Linked DNA regions of Homo sapiens: all the other regions are linked to region 1. Evidence: promoter capture Hi-C in 16 types of primary human blood cells and fetal thymus (Javierre and others, 2016). All regions are on one chromosome and are shown on one strand. Each heading gives the region's core, a stretch centred on a gene start or on the middle of the fragment in contact. The rest is flanking DNA. Distances are from core to core; before and after follow the strand shown.

Evidence for each region. The method cuts DNA at HindIII sites, captures the fragments that hold promoters and counts their contacts. A CHiCAGO score of 5 or more calls a contact.
Region 2: a contact is called between the fragment with the promoter of GTF2F2 here and the fragment with the promoter of LRRC63 in region 1, in 1 of 17 cell types (naive CD8 T cells). The highest score is 10.1, in naive CD8 T cells.
Region 3: a contact is called between the fragment with the promoter of TSC22D1 here and the fragment with the promoter of LRRC63 in region 1, in 1 of 17 cell types (total CD8 T cells). The highest score is 6.5, in total CD8 T cells.

Annotation. Positions count from the first base shown.
Region 1 is chr13:46,210,535-46,213,297 of GRCh38, reverse strand. It overlaps LRRC63 (leucine rich repeat containing 63), which reads right to left and starts at 1,370. Exons shown (of 10, transcript NM_001282460.2): 1 at 1,039-1,370; 2 at 179-296. The coding sequence starts at 263. It overlaps LOC107984578 (a long non-coding RNA gene), which reads left to right and starts at 1,446. Exons shown (of 4, transcript XR_001749863.3): 1 at 1,446-2,763. RefSeq lists a silencer at 1,285-1,614. The HindIII fragment of the contact is 5,320 bases long and covers 1-2,763 here.
Region 2 is chr13:45,119,241-45,121,940 of GRCh38, reverse strand. GTF2F2 (general transcription factor IIF subunit 2) reads right to left here and starts at 1,431. Exons shown (of 8, transcript NM_004128.3): 1 at 1,220-1,431. The coding sequence starts at 1,285. RefSeq lists enhancers at 516-1,157, 1,268-1,397, 1,158-1,801. The HindIII fragment of the contact is 3,497 bases long and covers 2-2,700 here.
Region 3 is chr13:44,574,983-44,577,682 of GRCh38, reverse strand. It overlaps TSC22D1 (TSC22 domain family member 1), which reads left to right and starts at 1,353. Exons shown (of 3, transcript NM_183422.4): 1 at 1,353-2,700. The coding sequence starts at 1,609. It overlaps TSC22D1-AS1 (TSC22D1 antisense RNA 1), which reads right to left and starts at 1,787. Exons shown (of 3, transcript NR_038381.1): 1 at 1,413-1,787; 2 at 506-641. RefSeq lists silencers at 1-90, 361-600, 611-1,320 and an enhancer at 1,641-1,880. The HindIII fragment of the contact is 6,017 bases long and covers 1-2,700 here.

The sequences.
Region 1 (2,763 bases), core at 121-2,620:
GTCCACCAATAAGTATCAGTAAATGCATCTGTGGAATTGAATTGGATGTTATCACCTGACAACAAACATTTGTAAGTTATTAGTGAGTGTATTTATTGTGATTCTGAGCTGTGCAAGTCAAGGAATTTCTATGAAAGATACATAAATGTTAATACACATATCTGATTAATACACATACCTGTATGGGTTTTTTTCTCATGTAAAGACAGCTTAGTGAATTTTGGAGGTAAGGGTCTTCGAAGAAGCAGTGGGGGCTTTTGCATTTTAATGAATAATAAGTGCTGTTTTTCATAATCCTTGGTTTAAATGAGAATTGAAAAGGTTTTGAATATGTTTGAATTGTTGAAAAATAATAAGAATTTAGATTACATCTTAAAGAAAATCATTCTGTACCAATACTCTACTGAATCCAGGCAGAATTCCTTTATGAAAAAAAAAGAGGGTAAGAAAATAATTCTTTAAAACTTCTATTAATAGAAAGAATCCAGTTAAAATGTAGGGTTATAAGTAAACATAGAATTTTAAAAATATGTGTATTATTACTACCCAGGATCATTCTACAATTTTCCATGTTAGTACAAAGTTCAATTTGCCAATGCTATTTCAACTAGTAAATACTGATTTTTCAGAATAGTCGAAATGACATTTTTTTTCTCTCTCTCCAAAATGTTATCGCTATAAATGTAGAAAGAGAATTTGGTCAGAAATGTGTAGAAGATGCCTTCATTAGATAAGCCTCTGAAGACCCACCATATCTAACCATTCACAAACAAATTGTTTTCTTTCTATAATGGCTTGTTTTTCAACCACTATGCTTGGGCCAAAACAATTCAATCCTAAAATAAGATGGGTTTCACTATAATGAGATTTCCCAGGGCTGCTGGATCCCAACTCATACTGTTTAGAAATAATGCGAGAAGATGCACCCCCAAAATGTGCTTTTAGTTTGCAGGGCAACATCAAAAGTGCCTGGCACGGCATTATTCCATTGATAGCCTAGAAGGGAACACCCTGAAACTGCACAAATGGGCCGTTTACCGCCAAAAGATAACTGCACACAAGCGCTCAAGGTGTACTCCCTGGTCATATGTTCCACACGATGCTGGAAATCTCCCTTCCGTAGTACCCAAAGAGGGGCATGGAAGTGCTGGACTCCCACACTACCCTTTAGGATAATCGGCCGCTTTCCAAACCAACTGGCTTTTCGTCTCCTATCTCCTTTTCCTCGGAATCTAGGCAGCGAGGTAAAGGTCCAGCGAGGGTCTTCCTGCAGGAGGCTGTTCCCGAAGAAGCACCACGGATCCCCACCCTCTAGGAGGCCAAGGAGACACACCCTAGCAACCGGGGTCCGCTAAGCCAGCCCAGCCACTTGACGCGCAGGCGCGGGGGCGGGACAGGCGAGGCGGGCGCGGGACAGGCGAGGCGAGGCGGGCGCCGGGAGGGGCAGGCCCAGCCCACGGTGCAGCGCGCGCGGAGCCCTCGCCTTCCTCCGACGCACTGTGGGGCTGCAGGGGAAGCTGCGGGCCGTGGGGGCCGGAGGAGAAGCCGGCTCCACGCGCAGCTGCTGTACGGAACGCCGTGGTGACAATTGTTATTACTATTTTTATGCTTAATGGCAATGACCACTATTATTTATTATTTTCTCTCGATTACAGGATGCTTTACTTGGGTGTCTAGAATATGGGCTGGCATTCTTTAAGGCTGCACTTTTGTGCAGCCGGGTCCCGGGGCTAATTTTGCAGTGCTCTCGAAAAGCGGGCATTCGGTTTTCTTTCTCTTCCTTTCATGCAACCTGTTTTCTCTTTCTGATCCTTTAAAGTTCCTGGCTGAGGCTGGATTGTGTAGAAATAAGGGCATTAGGGATCCAAGCGGGCCATAAAAGAAACCCATTTCTCACTGTCATCGTCCTCTGTTCTGGTTATCATATTGTGACGTGTCGCCTCTGTCATGGTGTTGATGAACCTGTGTGTGCAGTCATAGATACATCGTGTGTGTTTGCAAAAATGTGCGTGTTTCTCTGGAGATTTGAGGGGGAAAGAGCACTAGAAAGAGCTCATCTGATAGATGCGGAAATCCGAACTCAGAAAGTAAACTAGGTAGAGCTTCCTTCCAGGTTTGGTTTTTTCTAAGTACTAGCGCAGGAACTTTATAACAGAAGTTGGAAAATGAGAGACTTCTGTATAAATCTTTCTAGCTTTGGGGATCTTTCAAGATTCACACCATAACCATGTCTTCCTTTTTCTCCTTAGTAGCAAACATGTTTTAAAACAATCAATGAAAAAAGTAGAAAAGTTTTAACAAAAAAGTAATCAGACTCTGGAAAATATTATGCAACTTGTTTTCCTTTACAGTAGTAGTGTACTGTTTCTTTTCCTTGTAAGTTTACTGTGTCCCAATTATACTGCTGCCCCAGACTATGAATTTATTTCCACTTTTGCTGTTATCTACACCATAGATTCATTAGTTTCTCAGAAATACAAAGCTGAAAATAAAAGGCAGCTCTGTGGCTAAGATTAGTCTCAAGTAATATATATCGTGCATATTTTGTAAATGTGAAAAAAGGTTTATATTTTTAAGCATAAAAAATGACAGTGTAAATTGAGTCAGGTACCTATGCTCTTCAAGATCGTTGGAACCATGAGAACTACAGGAATTCAGTTTTACTGACTGACGTTTGGCCTTTAAAATTTATGCTTAGCTTTGTGTAGTCGAAAGCAAGGCTTCTGAATGCTTTTTCAAAAAATGCTTTGTCACACTTGGAAT
Region 2 (2,700 bases), core at 182-2,681, 1.1 Mb after region 1:
TTTTTCCTTCAGTCCGTAAGGGCAATCTCCTCCTTAGTGACTCTCCCCCCAAGTAACATGCTGCTGGAGAGAGAAATGCCTATTTAATCCATCCTTTTAAGTCACACTGAGTTTGGAAATAAGTCAAATGAGTGCCACAGACTAAGGCGAGGGCTGAAGAATGAGAGGTCATGCATTTATTCATCATCTATTTGTTGAGTAATTACCATGCGCCAAACACTATTCTGGGTATGACAGGCAAAGATCCTGTTCTCATGGAATGTGATTCTGTGTGTTGGAAAGACAGAGGTAACCAACTTTGAACATATGAACACAAAATCACTCTACACTGTGAAAAGTGCTTTGAAGAATGTAATACACATCTGTCGTGTTAGCAAATGATCACAAGGGGGCTGTTTTAGGAAGGCCGACAAGAAAGACCTCTTAGATTTAATTGACGAGAACTCAGCCATGTGATAAAACAGTTAAAGCATTAAGAAACCAAAAGTCCTTACATTTTAAGTTTCAACGACTTTCAGGATCACATTTTGAATATGCTTAAGTATTATGAAACTCCCCTAGGAGAAAACACTCCCCAATATGAAACAATAAAGCACAAATAGTGCTTACTGTGAGCTAACCAAAATTGCTGTCTTCACATAAAACGTTTATTGACGGCCAGTTTCACGAGACCCAAATGTGCTCTAAAAGAATACTCCAGTCCAATGACCTCTCCTTCTGTGAGTTTGGGGCTCTCTCGCCTCTTTTGAGAGCTTCATTAAGGACCATCAACCTAAGAGAACACTTTTAAGAGTAGGCAGGGACCAGTCCTACTTTCTGGCCGAGAAAACTGTACAGAAAGTAGACATTCAACTACCTCACGCAGGCTCATGGCTAAAACCAGTTTCACCAAGGGAAGATACAAGGAATTCTTCAGTCTGGGATAAAATGCACCGTCCAAATCTGGGGACACCAAGACAAGATTCCAGGAAAGCCGTGAGAAAGAGATCTAGTCCAGGCAGATTCAGAGTAGTAACTGGCTGAAAGACACTTTGCGTCCCTAAACTAATTCCTCGTCTGCAAACAGATACAACAATGACTCCTGCCTCTCAAAATGTGTGAAGCTCTAACGAGATAGCCGTAAAAGAACTTTAAGAGGCGCACGGAGCGGGATAGGCTCAAGTTACTTAAACTATACTTGTGTTAGGAGGAGCGCAAGTGGGAGACTCGCGAACATTACCTTGACTAGCCACACTCCTGTGTTCTGTTTGGCGCCGGTCAAGTCGAGTTCCCCGCGCTCGGCCATGGGTCTGCAGCCGGTGGAGGCGTGCGGGATGCAGCAGCGACCCCAGGAGCCGCAGGGCTGAGGAGCGGGCGTCCGGAACAAAGGACAAGCCGCGCTGAGAGGCGAAGAGCCGGCGTTCCTTACCTGCCAGAACACTGGGAACCGAGGAAAAGAGGAACACGCCGCCAGGAGCCGGGACTGCGCCTGCGCACTGCTACGTCAGTACGGCGCGCTGTTGCAGACAAACTTTCTGTTTCGGAAATTTCTTGAGTGGGCGTGGCTGTCCGCGATGTCTGCATCTGAGGGATTAAAACGTAGGGTGGGATGAGCTAAAACGTTAGCAATGTATTTAAAGACATGGTCAGCATAACTGAAGAAAAAGATTATCAGAACGGAAAAATGGGGTTCAAAGAGACGAAAGGTGTCAGAACATGTCCAACCCTAGCCAAGGAGAGAGAGACAATATTTGAAGGACAGGGTCAGGGTAGTAAATTGGCGTCCCTGGCCAACGTCATTAGCACAAATGGGCACTGGGATCAAACTTAGTAGCCTTGGGTATATTGAAAACATGCCGTTTCTAGACCTGGAAAAAAAAAAGCCGTGTTTCAGCTCAGAGGCTACCCGAGCTGTTCTGATGAAGCAAGCGGAGCACCTCAGTTTCCAAAACCCGGAAGTCTGTAACGAAACGAACAAGTAAGAGACAAACCTGATCGTTTCCTCCCCTGCTTAAACAGTTTTCTCTTTCTCTTATTGCCTCTAGAATAAAGTTCAATCCTCCTGCTTCAACTGGGCCCTCTCAATTTCATCTCTTTGCACCTCCCACCATCACTCCGCCATGCACCAAACCACATCAAACCCAGCAGACTTCCCTAAACACGTCAGAATCTTCGTCGGTCATTTCAGAGCCTCTGCACACTGGATTCCCTTCCCTTGGAAGCCCTATTTTACCCCTGCCCTCACTCTCACCCCTGTGCTCTGGTTGGCAAACTCCTACTTATGGTTCAAGACCAATGAAAATGTCACTTCCTATGAGATCTTTTATCAACTTCCCCAGAAGAAATTAGTTTTTCTTCACATCACAGTGTGATACTTAGCACTCTGAACTATAATATATATGTTTACATATCTGCCTTTGCTTTCCAGACAATGAACTCCTCCTAGGCGGAAAGAGCTTTATTGAGGTATAATTGACAAATAAAAAATAGTGCTTTATTCATTTTATATCCACAATGTCTAGCACAGTGTTTAACACATTGTCAGGTTTCAGTAGGCTTTGGGTGAAAGAACATTCGCTGAAGAGAAACAAACAGTAAGGTATTGTTAAGAATGGCAAGTAATTTATTGAATCACACATCAGAGCCTTGCACAAAATTGAGGAAATTTTATGTGTGTTCAGCATAGGGCCAGGAAAAGCTGTCAGAACTCTGCTTTTAGCT
Region 3 (2,700 bases), core at 104-2,603, 1.6 Mb after region 1:
AGGCGCGCACCCTGCCCGCCCCCACCGGGCCGAATCACGCAGTCCGACCCGGATTCGCTCCTTCGGCCGGAATTCCCCACCCCCACTATCCCCTCCGGCTCCACCACTCCCGGCTTCGGCGCCTCTGCCAGCCTTCGGTAATTTCCGTCGGGAGACCTGGCGCTCGCCTAGGCCCGAAGACCCGCCGCCTCCTGCCCCGCCAGACCCGGCTTTATGTCTGCGGCGCCGAGGCGCATGCGCAGACGCCATCTTCCCTCCTCCTCCTCCGCCTGCCCCCTCCCCCCAGCCACCACCGCCTCCTCTCGCCGGCGGTCGCCCCTCCTCCTCCTGCGCTCCGCGCTGGTCCCTCCCCTCCCGATGCCGCGAGAGACTGGGGGATACGGTGGAGCCGGGGGAGCCGAAGAAGAGCACTAGTAACAACCACCACAGCCCCCTCCCCGCCCGACACCCTCCCTCGGCACCCACTCACTCCCCCGCCCCGTTTGCCGACACCGACCAACCCCACCTCGTTCCTTTGAACGGCGTCGGCTGCAGTCGCTGCACCAGCCCGTCTGGCCACCAACGCCGCGGAGAAAGGAGCCGCCGCCGCCTGCGGCCCTCTCCCGCCCGGTCGCGGGAGCAGCGGGGTGAGGAAGAGCCGGCTGCGGAGGAAGAGGATAAGAGAGGGTCGCACCCTCCGCCCTAGCGCACGTCCCGCCGCCCTCCGGAGAGGCTCGGGTGCCGGCCCCTTCCTCCCCGAGGACGTGTGCCGAGTCGAGGCGCCTGCCCTGAGGGAGGAAAATGCTCGGGCTCCATGGCTGCCAGTGATGGAGCGGTCCCTGGGCTCCCGCTGCCACCGCCGCCGCCGCGCCCCGGCCGTGCTCCGCGAGGACCCGGCGTCTCTGCGCGCCCGCCCGCGCCTCGTTGCTGGGCTCACCGTACCGGGCGCCTCGCCGCCGCCCCGCTCGCAGCCGCGTCGCCCCGGCCCCAGCCGCGGCCAGCGTTTCCTCACCGAGCAGCCGCCGCGAGCCCAGGGGGTTTGAAAGGGTCTGCGGGGCGCGGGGGGAGGGCCGAGCGGGGCCGGGAGGGGAGGTTTGAGCGACACTGAGCTCGGGGCTCGCTGGCGGCGGCGGCGGCCCCGGGGGTGGCGAGGGGAAGGCGACATTTGCTTGGCGCTGCCTCCGTGCAGAGCGGCCGGGAGGGCTTTGCAGCGGCCGCCGACGCGGCGGGAGGAGGGGGCTGAGGCGGCTTCGGAGTTGGCCGGAGAAGGTGGGCATTTCTCGCTTTTCCTCCCCTTCCTGCGCTCTCCCCCTCCCTCCTGCCCCGCACCCCACGTGAAGCAGAATATAAAGGGGGGTGTGAGGCTAGAGGGGAAAGTGAATGGCGAAGGACTGAAGGGATCCCCCCTTCGGGTCCCCGGCCGCCCTGTTCACCCTCGTTCATCCTCCTTTCCGAAGCTCGCTCTCGAAGGCAGGAGCGACCGGCGCCTTTGGCTGAGGAGGAGGAGAAGGAGGAATCGCGCCAGGCGGAGCGTCAGGTCCCGTTTTCCTCTCCGGCGTCTCCAATACAAAGATTACGGTGCAGAAGGAAATTGCACTCGTCTCCTCCGCGCCCCCGGTACCCAACACAATGCACCAGCCGCCTGAGTCCACCGCCGCGGCCGCCGCCGCTGCAGACATTAGCGCTAGGAAGATGGCGCACCCGGCAATGTTCCCTCGAAGGGGCAGCGGTAGTGGCAGCGCCTCTGCTCTCAATGCAGCAGGTACCGGCGTCGGTAGTAATGCCACATCTTCCGAGGATTTTCCGCCTCCGTCGCTGCTTCAGCCGCCGCCCCCTGCAGCATCTTCTACGTCGGGACCACAGCCTCCGCCTCCACAAAGCCTGAACCTCCTTTCGCAGGCTCAGCTGCAGGCACAGCCTCTTGCGCCAGGCGGAACTCAAATGAAAAAGAAAAGTGGCTTCCAGATAACTAGCGTTACTCCTGCTCAGATCTCCGCTAGTATCAGCTCTAACAACAGTATAGCAGAGGACACTGAGAGCTATGATGATCTGGATGAATCTCACACGGAAGATCTCTCTTCTTCGGAGATCCTTGATGTGTCACTTTCCAGGGCTACTGACTTAGGGGAGCCCGAACGCAGCTCCTCAGAAGAGACCCTAAATAACTTCCAGGAAGCCGAGACACCTGGGGCAGTCTCTCCCAACCAGCCCCACCTTCCTCAGCCTCATTTGCCTCACCTTCCACAACAGAATGTTGTGATCAATGGGAATGCTCATCCACACCACCTCCATCACCACCATCAGATTCATCATGGGCACCACCTCCAACATGGTCACCACCATCCATCTCATGTTGCTGTGGCCAGTGCATCCATTACTGGTGGGCCACCCTCAAGCCCAGTATCTAGAAAACTCTCTACAACTGGAAGCTCTGACAGTATCACACCAGTTGCACCAACTTCTGCTGTATCATCCAGTGGTTCACCTGCATCTGTAATGACTAATATGCGTGCTCCAAGTACTACAGGTGGAATAGGTATAAATTCTGTTACTGGCACTAGTACAGTAAATAATGTTAACATTACTGCTGTGGGTAGTTTTAATCCTAATGTGACAAGCAGCATGCTTGGTAATGTTAATATAAGTACAAGCAATATTCCTAGTGCTGCTGGTGTGAGTGTTGGGCCTGGAGTTACCAGTGGTGTTAATGTGAATATCTTG